Linked DNA regions of Homo sapiens: all the other regions are linked to region 6. The links are contacts of gene promoters, found by promoter capture Hi-C in blood cells and fetal thymus (Javierre and others, 2016). All regions are on one chromosome and are shown on one strand. The core of a region is centred on a gene start or on the middle of the fragment in contact, and the rest is flanking DNA. Distances in the headings are between cores, read along the strand shown. Region 1 overlaps PDHX (pyruvate dehydrogenase complex component X). Region 2 overlaps SLC1A2 (solute carrier family 1 member 2). Region 3 overlaps PDHX (pyruvate dehydrogenase complex component X). Region 4 overlaps PDHX (pyruvate dehydrogenase complex component X). Region 5 overlaps SLC1A2 (solute carrier family 1 member 2). Region 6 holds the start of CD44 (CD44 molecule (IN blood group)).

Region 1 (2,700 bases), core at 110-2,609, 180 kb before region 6:
ATAGCATTACTGAAGAACAGCTCTAATTTGGTAACTAAGCAAGATCCTTAGAAGTGGTAATAAATGCAGAAAATTAGAGCGTAGAACAGTGAAACTTTATACAGTATTAAATATGTGAAATCATGCAATAACATTTACATTTCTAAAACAAGGAAATATATTTTTAAAAAATTATTTTCATTATCCCTTTGAATTTTATTCACTTGTGCTGTTATAAAGCAATTTCCATATACAGTTTGGTCTCTTTTTAGATTTTCTTTTCTATTTCACTGATCCATCTGTCCATGAGTTAGTACCATACTTTTTTAGTACCACACTTTTAATTAGAAATGTTTTATTGTATGCTTTAAAATCTGATAACAATAGCTTTGCTCTTTTTTTAAATCAGTTTTCTTAGTTCATTCTTATTTTATTATTCTTCCAAATGAATTTTAAGCAGTTCGTCTAGCTCCATGGGTAGGAGTGAGGGGTATTTTTATGGGATTGTATCACATTTTAAATTAACTTTGTGAGAACTGACATCTTTATCATGATGGGTCTTTCTGTTCTGCAACACTGGTTTAAATGTTTGTGTCTTTCCATTAGTTTAAATGTTTGTGTCTTTCAAAACAGATGGCCCCTGTTCTGTTGAAACTTAGTCTAGTAGGGTAGACAAAGATTAATCAAATAGGCTTATGAACTAATGTAAGATTTCAGTAGTGTTATGTGCTACATTTTTATTGGCAGTAATAGTAAATGTTTCAAATTGAGTTTATGTTTTAAAGCAATGTACTCATTCCATATTTATCTAATATTGATAGGAAATAAAAAATAATATTGGCCAGAATTTTTGTAAGTCGAGAGAGAGCAATGGTTGTTAAATTATAAGTGGCAGTGTTGGGCCAGGCAATGTTTTCTTTTTTCCACTGGGTTATTTTACTCTTCATGAAAGCTTTGGCTTACTGTTGGGTGTTTATTTTATTGAAAGCAGTATATAGATTTAATTCTTAGATATCCTCATTTATGTGTATTACACTCTTACTAATTTGTTAACTGAATGTATGTGGTTCTATCACACACATACTGTGAAGTTCGTGCCACACTGCATGAGTTGGAAATCAGCTGTCCTGAGAGCTGACTGAAAGGCAACATCCCAGACCATGGGATTTTTAGTTAAAGGATTTAAAAGTTACACTTAGCTGTAAAAAATTAAAATTAAGAACCTTGGTTGCCAGTTAATCCCAGTTTTTTCCCCACACCAATCCTGATTTGTGTCTACTGTTGGTATCTTAATCTTGTTAGTCTCTACCAGTCTGTGCCTTAGTAGCACTCTCTGTAAAAATGGGAGAAAGCAACTATTTTTATAACAAAGTAGATTTGCCTTGCTCATAATTCTGAGGATTAGGAATAAGAGTCTGTATTTAATTCATTAATCTTTGAGGATTTGGTGAAATGTAAAATAATGATTGCTGCACCTTAGGGGGATCAGTTCTGCAAATTTGTGTAAGATAAACTGGAGCAGAAAAAGATGAGATAAGGAGATAAATTAATAGGCTCCTAAAGTAATCCATGTAAGAGGTAATGAATACTTGAATGTGGTTAGAAGAACTAAAAGGGAGATCCCTGATACAGACAACATTGTAAGGATAAAGTCCAGAAGCCTTTGCAGATTAAATGTGGAGTGTAGGCCAGAGTAGCAACAAGTAAGGGAATGAATTTGGATCTGGTCTAGGTGATGATAGTTTGGTCTCCATAAATAGAAATAATGGATTTGGGAAGCATTTGTTTTGGTGGAGTTAGTAATGTTTGAAGCTTATTGTCAGGACTTAGAAGCCATGTAGGTATTGGGATCAATGAGATGAAGATGTATCTCAGGAGATAGTTGGGGATTAGAGAGGTAGATTTGGTAGATAATAAAGCAATAGTTATAATTGAGATCATCAATAGGGAAACTAGAGGTTAAAATCCTTGAGTTGGAGGATACCTGGGAAATGTGGGAAAAGTCAAGGATGGTAGGATCTAAGAAAAGCCTCTTAAATTTGGTAATATGGTGTTCAGTAGTGTGACAGCAGTAAAATAAAGAAATAAAGGTTTCTTCCTTCCTTTTCTTTCCATGTGTGCTTAATACATATATGATGCGCAAATATCTTTTTTTAAACCTGAGTTGAAAGTTATAATATTAATGAAACATTTCTTAAGAACAAAATGGTATTATCTCCTGAATACCATAAGGAAGCAGTATTAAAGAGTTAGGCTTTTAGTATTATTGCCATCTTTTCTACCCTGTTACCCTTTTCTCTTCCCTGCCTTTATTCCTTAACTCTCCACGAGAAAGGCATCAGCCTTTGGTCTTCAAAATAAGAACTAGTACAAAAGATTTCATGAGAAAAATGGATCCTGAAAGCATATATTATTGAGGATTTTTGCTTTTCTATACTGCTAAAAATGCCTGCATTTTAAGTTTATCATTAAGGTGAGCTTTGGAAAAAATTTTAGCCTAATGTCGTCTTCTGCTATGGTTGAAAAATTGCAGGCTTTGGCATAGCTGTCCCCAAAATATCTTAGCACACTTTTTTATTTTTTAACGTTTTGAATTTTTTTTTCTTTAAGAGAGAGACAGGCTCTCACTCTGTCACCCAGGTTGGGGTGCTGTGGTGTATTCATAGCTCACTGCAGCTTTGAACTCCTAGGCTGAAGTGGTCCTATCACCTCAACCTCCCA
Region 2 (2,700 bases), core at 27-2,526, 210 kb after region 6:
GATGCCTGGGCTGAGATTGGAGCTGCTTGTTGGTCTGAACCCAAATCTCCTACCAGGCACTGAAGTGTCCTCAATTCATGGTCTGGAAAATGAAATGGAAGGAGCCTTAAGATTTCATTCTTCTGACTCCCCTAAACTTTAAATACACCTTCTCTCTGAGAGAACATATTAATACTAAAAGCCACCAATATTTTTACTTCCTTTTAAAGATTATCTTAAAGAGTGAACCCATCTACCCACTATCCTCATCCAATAGAATCAGCTGACCCAGTCCTTGTTGGAGAGATTAATAAAAATAATATACTAATGATGGCTAACATTCATTGAGTACTTACTCTGAGTCAGGTACTATCCTCCAATAACCCAGTGAAATACATAATACCATTAGTCCCACTTTATAAGTGAGAAAATTGAGGTTTAGAGGATTAGGTAGGCTAACCATGATCAGGCAACTGATTAGTGCCAGAGACAGAATCCAAGCCAGGAATGCTTTACTTACGAGCCCATGCTCTTCTCTCTGCATAATGCTCTCCCCAGTGAACTTCCCACTCCTTCTCTGCCTCCCAAAATGACCAGAACATCTCTGCTTTCCCAGACAGCATGTCAGTTTCTCCTGGGACCATGGATCCTGTCTGAAGAACACTCCAGACCAGAGCACTTTCCTACTGACATGGACGTGTGTTCTCCCAGATACTTCACCCCACTCAGCTCAGGCCCTAAGGAGGTTTATAAGCTAAAAACAGTCTGGTTTTCAAGTAATATTGAATGACCCCATCAGATACAGTATGATTGGGAGTATATTGTGTGTACATTTAAAAGGTAAGACAGAAAACTGCAGATATACTCTGATTATTATTTTATTTTTTATTTTTATTTATTTATTTATTTTTTGAGACAGAGTCTTGCTCTGTTGCCCAGGCCAGAGTGCAGTGGCACAATCTCGGCTCACTACAACCCTCTCCTCCCAGGCTCAAGCGATTCTCCTGCCTCAATCTCCTGAGTAGCTGGGACTACAGGTGCATGCCACTACGCCCTGTTAATTTTTGTATTTTTAGTAGAGACGGGGTTTCACCATATTGGCCAGGCTGGTCTCAAACTCCTGACATCATGATCCACCCACCTCATTCTCCCAAATTGGTGGGATTACAGGCGTGAGTCACCGCATCTGGCCCTGATCATAATTTTATAAAAATTGTACATTGCATCGAGAAAAAAGTGGACACAAAAGGTTCCTAGTGGCTATCTGTGAATGATAAGATGATGGATGGGTTTTTACTTCCTTATTGCTTCTTTCCTTTATGTTTCCAACTTTCTACAGCAAAAATGAAGCATTTTTATGATCAGAAACAAAGTTGCTAACTAAGCTGACTGACCAAAAAGGAAAAAAGTCCATATGACTCAGAGTAAAAACAAAGAACTACTTAATCTATAAGAAACTTTGTTGGCACATGTTCTGTCTTTTTGCTACTTACATACCATGCCCTGGTTATGAATCTCAAACTTCATCTAGTTCCACTTAGTTTTCCAGCCTGCTTCTGATGTTGAGTGAAGAATGTCAGTGTTGGGAGTGAATTACCTTAACACATCCACGGTCCCTTATCAGTCCAAGCCACAGCTTTCTGCAGAGGGAAGGTTTAATTACCAAAAGCTCTGTGACGCAGTTAGCACTATTTTTGGCTGGCAGGCAGGGCAGGTTAGTTCTTTATCCATCCCTGCCTTGGCTGAGCCCCAGAGGTCACAGACAGAGAGCATTTTCACCATCCCAAGGCCAAGCCCATCTTTCTAGAAGCCATTCCAATGCTGCCTCTTGAGAAAGCAGTAAGGCCCCAGTTCCCTTCTGCAAAGGAGTGGCACAATTTCTCCTCCTGATATTCTCACCCCTGTCTAGAATTGCAAGCTGTCTCAGGGCATGCTCACTGCACTGAGAGAGCTGCCCTTGTTTTGTAATACACCTTACTGGATACATTTCAGAGGGTTAGGTTGAGATGGTTGGCAGTGAGTTCATGCATGGCTAAACTGCACCATGCGAGAAATCAATGGGAACTCAAGGGATTGGGAATTAAGGAGCTGGGGAGAAAAGAGGGGAGGTTTGAGCAGGAAGCAAGAGATCCTATCAATGTGGTGGGGAAGCATGTGCCTGGGCAGCAGAGATGGCCAATGAAAACTGTCCCAGCAGTGACAACCAGAGACCTCAATATAAAAGCAATGACAATAATAGCAATAATCATTTCAAGACCGACTTTGAATTTTGATATCTTATGTCCTTGCTTCTAAGATAGGCTTTTTTTTTAAGATTTAACATTTCTGAAATTGGGATGCATATTATAGTCAATATCAACATTTATCTACTATAGTATGTCTCTTTTTACTTGAAAAACTATTATTACATTGTGAGTGCAATTTACAACTAAGGGTGACTTAGAATGGAGTGAATGTGGCTGTTTAGAAACCTTCTGATAGAGACAGATGGGGTTGGGATGACATTCTCCTTTTCTTGTCTCTTTGCTCTTAAGGTTTCCACTCCCCTAACCGTTCATACAAATGCACAGAAGCAATGCCTCAGCTTCTCTTCTTCACCTAGCAGACTCCTGCTCATCCTTCCAATCTTGAATCAAATGTTGCTTCCTCCAGGAAGCTTCCCTGACCTAACTGAAAAAGTCTAACTCCCTGTTGATCTGTGTGATTGATGGATGTGCATCA
Region 3 (2,700 bases), core at 61-2,560, 210 kb before region 6:
CTTTGCCAAGTCCCATGTGTTACCTTCTTTCTTTCTTTCTATTTTTTTAGATGGAGCCTTACTCTGTCGCCCAGACTGGAGTGCAGTGGGGCGGTCTCGGCTCACTGCAACCTCTGCCTCCCGGTTTCAGGCCTCCCAAGTAGCTGGGACTATAGGCATGTGCCACCAAGCCTAATTTTTGTATTTTTAGTAAAGACGGGCTTTCACCATGTTGTCCAGGCTGGTCTTGAACTTCTGACCTAATGTGATCCACCCGCCTCAGCCTCCCAAAGTGCTGGGATTACAGGCATGAGCCACTGCTCCCGGCCTACCTTATTTCTTTACAAAAATCTATTTATGGCACCATTTTAGAGAAGAGGAAACAGACATAGATAGAATAAATAACTTGTAGGTGGTGGATCTGAAATTAGAGCCTAGGCAGTTTGATTCCAGTACCTATTCTCTAAATCACTGTGGTATTCTGCTTCTCCTTGAGTTTTTTTAAATTAAATATTTAAATAATAAAATATTTCATTTAGCACAATAGTACATGCATATAGTTTAAATAGTACTGAAAGGCTTGTAACAGTACAGTGGATCTCTGCCCCATCTCACCCAACTTTCCCAGTCTTCCTTAGAAGTAACTAGTTTTGTCTCTTAACTTTCTTCTGGCATTTGCCCATCTCTCTGTTTCTATTTTAGCCGTTTTCTGTGGATGACTGCCGGTCAGTGCCGCCCTCTGTTTTCCCTCCCCAGTGAAATTATTTTGTAATTCTTGGTCAAATATTCAGTGTTTACATTAAACAAATATTATGCACAATTGAGGATTGTCCCATATTTTGTTTGTTAGCTTTCTTTTTGCTGCAGTTATTGCTGCCCTTTAAATTTTTAGTTAGTTTTTTCTGTGATAATTTCTAATTTATCTCACGGTATGTAATAGCTTCTCCACACAGTTTTCTGTAATGTCAGCCACATCAGATACTTTCTCACTTAACTTATTTTTGCAGTTTTTATATATCCTCAGCTATGTAGATTGAACTTCAAGCTCTTCTTTTTGCCCTCTGCAGAGAAAACAAGCTTCAGTCTTCTGTTGAATGAGGGTAGGGTTGTTACCTACCACTGGATTAAGAGAGGGGATCCAGGTATCTAGCTACTTTTCAAACAGCAGCCACCCAAATCCTCCCTGGCTTAGGATACAGCTTTCTAGGGTCTCTTTAATTGATTATTACGTATCTATTTACTTTTCTGCTTCCAAAATTGTATGCTGTTATTCCTTTTCTCTGTGTCCTTGTGGGTTTCTGCTTAAAATTAACAAAAGCAAACAGCACATTTTTAAACTTAGTGTTAGTTAAGTTTGAAAGAGGAAGTAAGATTGGATAAATTTATTGTAGACATGTATGAAAATGTAGGTTATCAGAAATAAAAGAAATAAAAAGCCCTTATAGTAATATCACTAGCTAGAATGACTACTATTGTCATTTTGGAGTATTTCATTTCAATCTTTGTATGTGTACAAGCTGGGCAGGTAGTAATTGGATGATGCCATATACAGGTTTGAGCATCTCTAATCTGAAAATCTGACATCCAAAGCTTTTTGAGCACTGACATGATGCTCAGAGGTGATGCTCAAAGGAATGTTCATTGTAGCATTTGGGATTTTGGACTTTGAGATTAGGGATGCTCAACCAGTAAGAATAATGAATGCAAATATTCCAAAATCTGAAAAAATCTGAAATTAAGAACTCTTATAGTCCCAAACATTTCTGATAAGGCATACTCAACCTATATATTGCTTATGGGTTATCTTTTTTATGTTTGTTAGCATGCCAAGACCTGTAAATGCTGTTTTCACACAAACTGTTGTGCATTCATTTTCTGTTGTGGTCCATTGACATTTTCAGTCTATTTTTACTCCAGTACCACACCAAAATAACTATTTGAACAAAGAAGACTTATATGACAAACGATCCTTTAAAACAAAAAATACTATAACTGCCTTTATTCCAAGTGTTAATATTACTCTGTGCCTAGTGCTGATTTTTAAATTACTTTTACTTTATTCTGCCTTATTTCATCCAGCCTGCAGATGGCAGAATTGTTTCATTTGAACAGCAATTTTGAAGGCTCCGTTTTATTTAGTGTGTTCTGACATTGGAATGAGAAGTGATTAAATGAACAGTCTCTCTCCCTATTAGAGAAGAAGCAAATTAATGTTAGAGACAGGGAGCCACACTAAGAAAGTACTGGATAATTTACTTTTTCATTTGGTCTATCTTCATTTCATGATTTTTGCATGCTTGGATTATAAATGAACTAGAGCCTATAAATGAACTAGAGCATGATGTTTAAGCTGTACCATATGTAAACTGCTGAATTCCCTTAATTACTTTAGTCAGAGTAATGGAGCTTAAATCTGCTTCATATTAACCATAAAGCAGTTTGTTCTGCATTTGTATTTTAAGAGTTTGCTTGTATTAAATTTTTTTTTTAATCTAGAGACCTTTTAGCATTCATGAATCAATCATCAATTTAAAGCTTTGATATAATTGAGTTTGCTGAAGTATGAGCATTTTGTTCTTAGGATAAAAGAAATACTTTAGGGAAGAAGAAACTAGAATTAGATTAGTGTACCATATTTGAAATTGAAGTCAGAATTATGCTGTAGAAAAATTGGAAGAGCCCATTTGAGGAAATACAGGAATTGCTTAGAGGGATTACTGT
Region 4 (2,700 bases), core at 135-2,634, 160 kb before region 6:
AGAAGTCTTCACTGTGAATACCTGTGGGTAAGTAGATAAAGTGAAGAGAAAGCTGAGAGAGCCATGAAAGGTAAGCAGAGTAAGTTCATGAACTGTTACATTTGAATTTGTACAAACCAAATCTTTCTATGTGGTTATCATTAAAAGCTTGTAAGCACTGTAAGTCCATTTATATTTCTATTCCTAAAGGGGTTTTAAGCAAAAATGTTTATATATTTCTGGAATTCTGAATTAGAGGAGCTTTGATACTTTGCAGCTGACAGTTATCGTGACAGTTTGACAGTATTTAGGTTTATGGTAATTCATCTAATCCCTTTCTGTAGTCTCCAGGATGCCTTTGGAATGAGCTGTTATTCACCTAAAATTCCGTGATACTTTAGTAATAGGATAGGTTTTTTGCCACATACCACTGACTAGATCTAGATCTTAGAGTCTTTTTCTATAAGCTCTTGCAAGAAAGAATCAAGTGTTGTTTACATTTTCTAACACTGTTATACCCAGTGGCAAATGCAAAGACATAAACAAATACTTTAGTTATGATCAGCTCGTAGGAAGTGGGAGGACCCCAGCTTTATCTTAAAATCATTATGTATACTGGAAAGAAATTGATTCAAATGCATTCACCATAAAACTATGGATGGAGAACCTCATTTTATTAATCACACTAGGACCTATGCCAGCATTGCTTCATCTTTGGCTTTTGTTATATCCTGTTTTGTTAAGTTAAAAAGCAGTTAAATTTTTTTTCACCTACACCCCATTAGTAAAAAGAAATTTTCGAACACTTTCCCATATGTGTATATATAACTGTTTATATATAAAGTACCTACATGTATCACTGTTCTAGTATAATCAGTATGTTATAAAGCATACAGAGAATAAGGGTATTTGAAAAGAACGAGGAAGAAAATGAATCATCTTGTAAACTTCCTGACTGCACACACCACAGAGAGATCATTTGTCTTTTTCGAGACATAGGAGTTAGTTCTTTTTTTCTGATTATGCTTGTAATGGGTCCTTCAGGTTCTTGTGTATGATATCTAAGCAATTTAAAAAATTGATAACCAAGGCCCAGAAGTAAACTTACATTCATGGTTAATATTATTGATCCAGGACCTCATATAATGCAAGTTTTTCTAATCATGGGAACCTTATTGACTAAGCAAACAAAAGCTTGTAATTTTTTATCATTGTTTGTCAGTACATTCCATAATTTACAAGTTTGAAGTTGTAATGGTCAATGTTAAAGTTATATTAGGAATACTAATTTTACTAACCTTATTTTTCTTTCAGATGACATTAAAGTATCAGTAAATGATTTTATCATCAAGGCAGCAGCTGTTACCCTTAAAGTAAGTAGCAGACTTCAAATGATTTTGTCTTCTTAAGTAGTTTCATGTCGTGGAATTTTTACAATGACAAATAGAACTCTTATTTTTAAATCACAAAAATTTTATAATTGTCTTGCTAAAAATATCCTATCGTTTGATCTCCCTCATTTTACAAATGAAGAAACTGTAAATCAAAAGGGCTCACAATGAATTAGAGCAGGATGAAAACCATTTATTCTAGGCATTAGAGATAGAGCAGTAAACAAAAGCTTACTTGATTTCTGCTGTCCCTGGGGCTTACATTCTAGTTGGAGGAGACAAACACTATTATATGTCAGATGGTGAAAGTGCTGAGGAGAAAAAGAAAGGATAAGGGGACAAAGTAACTAGGGGTGATTTTTCAAAAGGGAAGCGAGGGAAGCCCCTCTGACAAGGCGATAATTTAGATACGGCCTGAGAAAACAGAGGGAGTGAGCCACATAGGTATGTGGTAAAAGTGCATTCCACACAGAGGGACCAGCAAACACCAAGGCTGCAAGCAGAGGATCGCATTAACCAAAGATGTGGTGCTGAGGGTGGAATGTGCCTAGTATGGAGAGGTGGGAGATAAGATTTAAATAACAGTGGGAGAGCATGAAGGGGAACCCAAGTACATGAGGCCTTGTTGGACATGGTGAGGACTAGGGATTTTATTATGGGTGAGAAGGAAGCCTTTGGAGGGTTTTGAACAAATAACTAATGTGATCTGACTTATACTTCAGAAACGAAAAGGAGAGGCTGCCCTGGGTGCTGTGTAGAATGTAGCCTGTGGAGAGGCAAGGGAGGAGACGATGAGCTCCCCTGGGAGGCTTTAGAAGATCACAGTGGCTTGGACAAATGTGGTAGCAAATGGAGCTAGGGTGAAGTGGAGATTTGTGTTATGTTTCAAAAGTAGAGCCAACAGGATTTGCTGATGGATTGGATATGGGGTGTGAGAAAGAGAAACAAGCATTTTGGCCCAAGCAATGGGAGGAATGAGTTTTCCATGTACTAAGATTGGGAAAACTGGGAGGGGTATAGCTTTGGGTTAAGGAATCTAGAGTTTGGTTTTAGACATGTTACATTTGAGGAGCCTAACAGATATTCCAGTGGAGGTGGCAGGAAGGCAGGTGAACATATGAGCCTGCAGTTCAGTGGAGGTGATGTAAACCTAGCTGGCTGGAGTTGTAAATCTAGAACCCAGGCTTCCTGCCTTCCTGCCTGGCACTATTTTTCATCATGCCTCCTTTCTGTAACGAGGCTATTTTCTGGGATCACTGCTTGTTAACAGACTGTATTTAAAGTACATTTATAATTAACTTTTTATTTCTTGAAAAATACATTAATGAGG
Region 5 (2,700 bases), core at 132-2,631, 140 kb after region 6:
CTCTTAAAATCAATGCCAATAAATGTCAGAAAATTTGCTACTGGCAAGTCAGGCAGTTTGAAAAATAAGTGTGGGCACTTTGGCCTTGGGACTCTGGGCCAGCACTTGTCACTCTGTGCCTCTGACATTGAAGACTGGCATTGCCGGAGGCCCTATCATTTAACTCCAGTGCTGGACAGGAGGCATCAGATTACATCTCACAGAACATCCAAGCCCAAGTGGGCACTTAGAGGGGATCCATTCCAACCCCCTTGTCGAAGACCATCTGGTTAGACTTTCCCACCTTTGTGAATGGGCAGTGAGTATTCTACATGAGGAAAATGTCCTTCACTGGGAAAGGTAGCTGAACTACCATACATGGTCAAGTTCAAGTTTCTCTGCATGGCCTTTGAGGATGTCCGTCTTGCTCACCTTTCACCACGCCCTGCCTCCAAGAGTACCAGACCACTTGTACATCCTCACACTGCTGGTAGCCTCAGTGCCTTTGTGCAGGCTGGCCTTGACTGGAATGTCCTGTCTCCCCGTCTCCCTACATACACCTGAGAAACTTTTACCTATTGGTTATGATTCAGCTCAGCTACCACTGCCTTTAGAAGCTTGAATGTGACCATAAACAAGAATTTGTCAGGCTCCAGAGGCAGCCTGACCTAGGGTCGAATATCTGTCCATTTCTAAGTCTCTTTACCTCTATAAACCTCAGTGTCCTCATCTATAAAGTGGGAATAATAACATTTAACTTTCAAGGTTGTTAAAGAGGAAGATGTAAAGTGCTCAGTCTAGTAGCTGGAACCTAGTGAACACTCAAATTCAGTAACCACTTTCATGTTTCTTGATATTCTCCGCTCTGTCCTTCCATTCTTGACTGGGATGAAGGCCTCTCTCTATCACTATGCTTTTATGTGTGTGCTGTGTTTTAATCACTTTACTGAAGCATAATTTACATACAACAAAACGTACCCATTTTAAGTGTGTGTTTTGAAGAGTTTTGACAAATGTAGACACCTGTGCATACCTGTGCATATGGAACATTTCTGTCACTCCCAAAGGTTTCCTTGTGTTCCTTCCCAGTTAATCTCTATCCCCCTATACCTGGCCCAAGAAACCACTAATCTCTTTCTTTTTTCTTTTTTTTTCTTAGGCAGAGTCGCACTCTGTCCCCTAGGCTAGAGGGCAGTGGCACAGTCTCAGCTCACTGCGACCTCCGCCTCCCGAGTTTAAGCAATTCTCCTGCCTCCGCCTCTTGAGTAGTTGGGATTATAGGCACATGCCACCACGCCCAGCTAATTTTTTGTATTTTTAGTAGAGATGGGGTCTCACCATGTTGGCCAGGCTGGTCTTGAACTCCTAACCTCAGATGATCCACCTGCCTCGGCCTCCACAAGTGCTGGGATTACAGGCATGAGCCACCGCACCCAGCCCCAACTGATCTCTTTCTATTGATATGTGGTACATCGTCTTTTCTTAGAGCTTCATATAAATGGAATCATACAGTACATACTCCTTTGTTTCTGGCTCTATTCATTCAATATAATGTTCTGAGATTCTTTGAATGCATCAGTAGCTGGTTCCTTATTACTGTACTTTTAACCTTGTGTCATAATCTCTCTGATTCCTCCACTAGACTGTGACGCCTTCAAATATTTCATCTTTTTCTTCTTTGGTTCTCAAATAGGTCCTCAGTAAATGTGAGCGGGAAGGAGGAAGGAAGAGTGAGGGAGTTGCCATGGGGATTAGCTAAGATCTTGGTTGCAACCTTGCCACCTGTGCATCCCTAGGAGGCAGTACTCACAGTCCCAGCAGAACCCCATCCACAGACACTTACAGCAGCCAGTCCACAGCCACCAGCAGGCTGATGTCCTCTGTTGGCAGGCCCACGGCTGTCAGAATGAGGAGCATGGTGACCAGCCCGGCACTGGGGATACTGGCCGCGCCGACGCTTGCCAGGGTGGCTGTGAGGCTATGAGAACAGAGAAGTTCAGGTCATGGAAATGGAAAGAATCTTAGCAAAACCAACCCTGGCAATTTTAAGCTCTAATTTTCCTGCAGCCATAAAATTCATCCCCCAACCCCCACCCCATACTCTCCACCAAGGAATAGAGAAATCTAAAGTACTAAGACCAAGGAATTAAGGATTAAGGCCTATTTGGGTACTGCTCAACTATGATGTAAGCTTATAAATTCATGGACTGGAGCCTTATTCCCATGATGCTATCCGGTTAGTCTAATATATCACAGGGCTCAAATAAGGCAAGCGTGGCTCTAAAAGCAGGCAAGGAAATATTAAAGATAAAAACAAATCACCCTTAATCCTCCCATGGGAACACAACTGCATTCATTTCTGCTTACGCTTTTATGTCTCTGTGAGCACCAGAGGCTTTTGGACTATGTGGCAAGGGTCTAAGAAGGCCATTGCCAAGGTTAACATGAGAACTCAGAATAGCAAATATCCAGACCCAACTGAGTTGGACATCAGGGAAACAAATCAACAGATTCCAAATGACACTAAGCGTCAGGCGCCTGGATGCCTCACCATGGGCTGGAAAATACATTATTCAGAAAGGGGATGCCAAGAAATGATAATGAAAGAAAGGAAGGCTTTCTTTCTGAAGCATCTCATCAGTTCTTTCCAAGCAATGCCAGGGCCACACCCAGCACCATTTTGAAGTTTGTCTCTGGGAGAGGGTTAATCTGGAGTTCAAG
Region 6 (2,700 bases), core at 89-2,588:
TGCGTTTGATTTCCAAACATTAAACCATAGTATATTATAGATAGATATAGAGTTATCATTCAAAGTATGATATTTCAATCTCAAAAGGCTTCCCCTGAAGAATATTACAAACTCTTCCTCTCTTTAAGATCTGCTGGGTAGGAAAGATGGGAGAAAATGAATTAATGTTTACACAGAAAGGAGGATAATGGGGGCAAAAATAATAGATGAACGTATGGGTGGATGAGAGAATGGATAAAATGATAGGTGGATATGTTGATCTTGGACAGATGGGAAATGAGTGGATATATCAATAAACAGATATGTGGGTGGATGGGTGGAGAAGAGGATGGTGGATGGTTGTGGTTTTATGAAGAGATGTGAAAAAGGAAGTGTGGAATGATGGATGAGAAGTTGTATGGGAAGATGAATAGAAGAATAGGTGGTTGAATAAATTAAAAGGTGTGTGGTTGGATGAATGAATGAGTGGGATGATAGATGGACCTAAGTGGTTAGTGGATGGACAGGAGGATGGATGGATGTGAGAGCCCCAGAAGGACATAAGGAAAGATGGGTGGATAGATGGATGGGCGGATGGAAGGATATTTAGGAGGATGAATGAGCATGTGTGTGGAGAGAGGTGCCCATTCACACTGGCTTGAACACATGGGTTAGCTGAGCCAAATGCCAGCCCTATGACAGGCCATCAGTAGCTTTCCCTGAGCTGTTCTGCCAAGAAGCTAAAATTCATTCAAGCCATGTGGACTTGTTATTGAGGGGAAAAAGAATGAGCTCTCCCTCTTTCCACTTGGAAGATTCACCAACTCCCCACCCCTCACTCCCCACTGTGGGCACGGAGGCACTGCGCCACCCAGGGCAAGACCTCGCCCTCTCTCCAGCTCCTCTCCCAGGATATCCAACATCCTGTGAAACCCAGAGATCTTGCTCCAGCCGGATTCAGAGAAATTTAGCGGGAAAGGAGAGGCCAAAGGCTGAACCCAATGGTGCAAGGTTTTACGGTTCGGTCATCCTCTGTCCTGACGCCGCGGGGCCAGCGGGAGAAGAAAGCCAGTGCGTCTCTGGGCGCAGGGGCCAGTGGGGCTCGGAGGCACAGGCACCCCGCGACACTCCAGGTTCCCCGACCCACGTCCCTGGCAGCCCCGATTATTTACAGCCTCAGCAGAGCACGGGGCGGGGGCAGAGGGGCCCGCCCGGGAGGGCTGCTACTTCTTAAAACCTCTGCGGGCTGCTTAGTCACAGCCCCCCTTGCTTGGGTGTGTCCTTCGCTCGCTCCCTCCCTCCGTCTTAGGTCACTGTTTTCAACCTCGAATAAAAACTGCAGCCAACTTCCGAGGCAGCCTCATTGCCCAGCGGACCCCAGCCTCTGCCAGGTTCGGTCCGCCATCCTCGTCCCGTCCTCCGCCGGCCCCTGCCCCGCGCCCAGGGATCCTCCAGCTCCTTTCGCCCGCGCCCTCCGTTCGCTCCGGACACCATGGACAAGTTTTGGTGGCACGCAGCCTGGGGACTCTGCCTCGTGCCGCTGAGCCTGGCGCAGATCGGTGAGTGCCCGCCGCAGCCTGGGCAGCAAGATGGGTGCGGGGTGCTCAGCGCGGACCCGGCGGCAGCCCCTCCGGCTGAGTCGGCCCTGGGGGACTGGAGTCAAGTGAGCTGTCTGCGAAGTGCATTGGGCTCCGGAAAGCAGGGCTGGGATTTGCGCTAAACCGTTGGAGAATGTGTCTGTGGAAGCACCATTTGGTTGAAAGAAAAAGAGAAAGAGAAGAAAGTTTGTTGGGCAGGCTGCCGGCGCGCAGTTTTGGGCGAGGTCGCTAGAGCTGCAGCACATGGCAGAAAGTAACCGTTCTCCCGGATGCGCACAGTCGTTGTCTGGACTAACAGGCTCCTGTGCCCAAGGGCTCGCCAAGCCCCACCGGGCTGTGTCTAGGCAGGGCAGAGCTGGGCGGGGCAGAGACTGGGGCTGGAACAGGGCGAGTGGCTGTTATCAAGGTGGTCACAGAAGGGATCACAATTCCAAGTGTGAGACTAGCTGGCAATGGGTTTTCCAGAAAGGGGTCCTGGGTTCTCCCAGCTCCCCACTGAGCCTTGTTCCAAAGCTTACAGTCCGCAGTGTCACTGCCACCTTAGCGCTGTGGAAGCTTGAACCAGCTCTGCGGTGAGGTCTTGGGTCTCCATGAGATTCCAGCCTGGGATAGGGAGCATGAATATGAGAGGCAACCACTGGACCAGCTGCTTGGTCCTCACCACCTCCTGCTTCTGCCAATCAGTGTGGGGAAATCTCAACAGTAAGGTGGCTTATATTCCCTGCCTGGCAGCCTCAGAGCAGAGAGAAGAGCCTTGATACCAGGGCAACATCAGGGACCCTGGAGCTAGGGCTCCAATATCTCATCCAAACAGGGTCAGTGCTTTGTGGTGGCTATGGAGGGGAGGGGCTGCGTGTAAGGTATATTCTAGCACGGCTCAACTCCAAGCATTCTCTTTCTTTGTCTATGTATGTACAGATAATTACATGGCCGATTTGCTTATCGCTGGCCAAAATTAATCTTTCTTTTAAGAAGTGCCAGCTGGGTCATTAAGACAGCTCAGCCTGCATGCAGTAAATTCTACTCAGCAAATATTTATTAACCCAGTTCCACGGGAGTACTGAGAAATTGAAACACACAGTCTCACCCAGGTAGTTTAGATTGAGTACCCAGTATAAAGTAT

The links. The method cuts DNA at HindIII sites, captures the fragments that hold promoters and counts their contacts. A CHiCAGO score of 5 or more calls a contact.
Region 1: a contact is called between a fragment that was not itself captured here and the fragment with the promoter of CD44 in region 6, in 3 of 17 cell types (activated CD4 T cells, naive CD4 T cells and naive CD8 T cells). The highest score is 6.0, in activated CD4 T cells.
Region 2: a contact is called between a fragment that was not itself captured here and the fragment with the promoter of CD44 in region 6, in 2 of 17 cell types (non-activated CD4 T cells and naive CD4 T cells). The highest score is 6.1, in non-activated CD4 T cells.
Region 3: a fragment that was not itself captured here is called in contact with the fragment with the promoter of CD44 in region 6 in 4 of 17 cell types (activated CD4 T cells, naive CD4 T cells, naive CD8 T cells and 1 more); the score reaches 8.8 in activated CD4 T cells.
Region 4: a contact is called between a fragment that was not itself captured here and the fragment with the promoter of CD44 in region 6, in 2 of 17 cell types (naive CD4 T cells and total CD8 T cells). The highest score is 5.7, in naive CD4 T cells.
Region 5: a contact is called between a fragment that was not itself captured here and the fragment with the promoter of CD44 in region 6, in 2 of 17 cell types (non-activated CD4 T cells and naive CD4 T cells). The highest score is 6.9, in non-activated CD4 T cells.

What each region holds. Positions count from the first base shown.
Region 1 is chr11:34,960,705-34,963,404 of GRCh38, forward strand. The region is part of intron 5 of PDHX (pyruvate dehydrogenase complex component X); the gene reads left to right. Among named protein-coding and RNA genes, the nearest start is that of MIR1343, 20 kb to the left of the region's middle. The HindIII fragment of the contact is 860 bases long and covers 930-1,789 here.
Region 2 is chr11:35,350,763-35,353,462 of GRCh38, forward strand. The region is part of intron 1 of SLC1A2 (solute carrier family 1 member 2); the gene reads right to left. Among named protein-coding and RNA genes, the nearest start is that of SLC1A2-AS2, 67 kb to the right of the region's middle. The HindIII fragment of the contact is 2,713 bases long and covers 1-2,633 here.
Region 3 is chr11:34,924,213-34,926,912 of GRCh38, forward strand. All of the region lies in intron 1 of PDHX (pyruvate dehydrogenase complex component X), which reads left to right. Among named protein-coding and RNA genes, the nearest start is that of PDHX, 8.9 kb to the left of the region's middle. The HindIII fragment of the contact is 513 bases long and covers 1,055-1,567 here.
Region 4 is chr11:34,976,831-34,979,530 of GRCh38, forward strand. It overlaps PDHX (pyruvate dehydrogenase complex component X), which reads left to right. Exons shown (of 11, transcript NM_003477.3): 8 at 1,294-1,352. Among named protein-coding and RNA genes, the nearest start is that of MIR1343, 36 kb to the left of the region's middle. The HindIII fragment of the contact is 427 bases long and covers 1,172-1,598 here.
Region 5 is chr11:35,279,045-35,281,744 of GRCh38, forward strand. SLC1A2 (solute carrier family 1 member 2) reads right to left here. Exons shown (of 11, transcript NM_004171.4): 9 at 1,823-1,957. Among named protein-coding and RNA genes, the nearest start is that of SLC1A2-AS1, 1.4 kb to the right of the region's middle. The HindIII fragment of the contact is 1,574 bases long and covers 595-2,168 here.
Region 6 is chr11:35,137,833-35,140,532 of GRCh38, forward strand. It overlaps CD44 (CD44 molecule (IN blood group)), which reads left to right and starts at 1,339. Exons shown (of 18, transcript NM_000610.4): 1 at 1,339-1,538. The coding sequence starts at 1,472. It overlaps CD44-DT (CD44 divergent transcript), which reads right to left and starts at 200. Exons shown (of 3, transcript NR_120528.1): 1 at 1-200. RefSeq lists enhancers at 504-1,068, 2,236-2,700 and a silencer at 979-1,048. The HindIII fragment of the contact is 6,539 bases long and covers 1-2,088 here.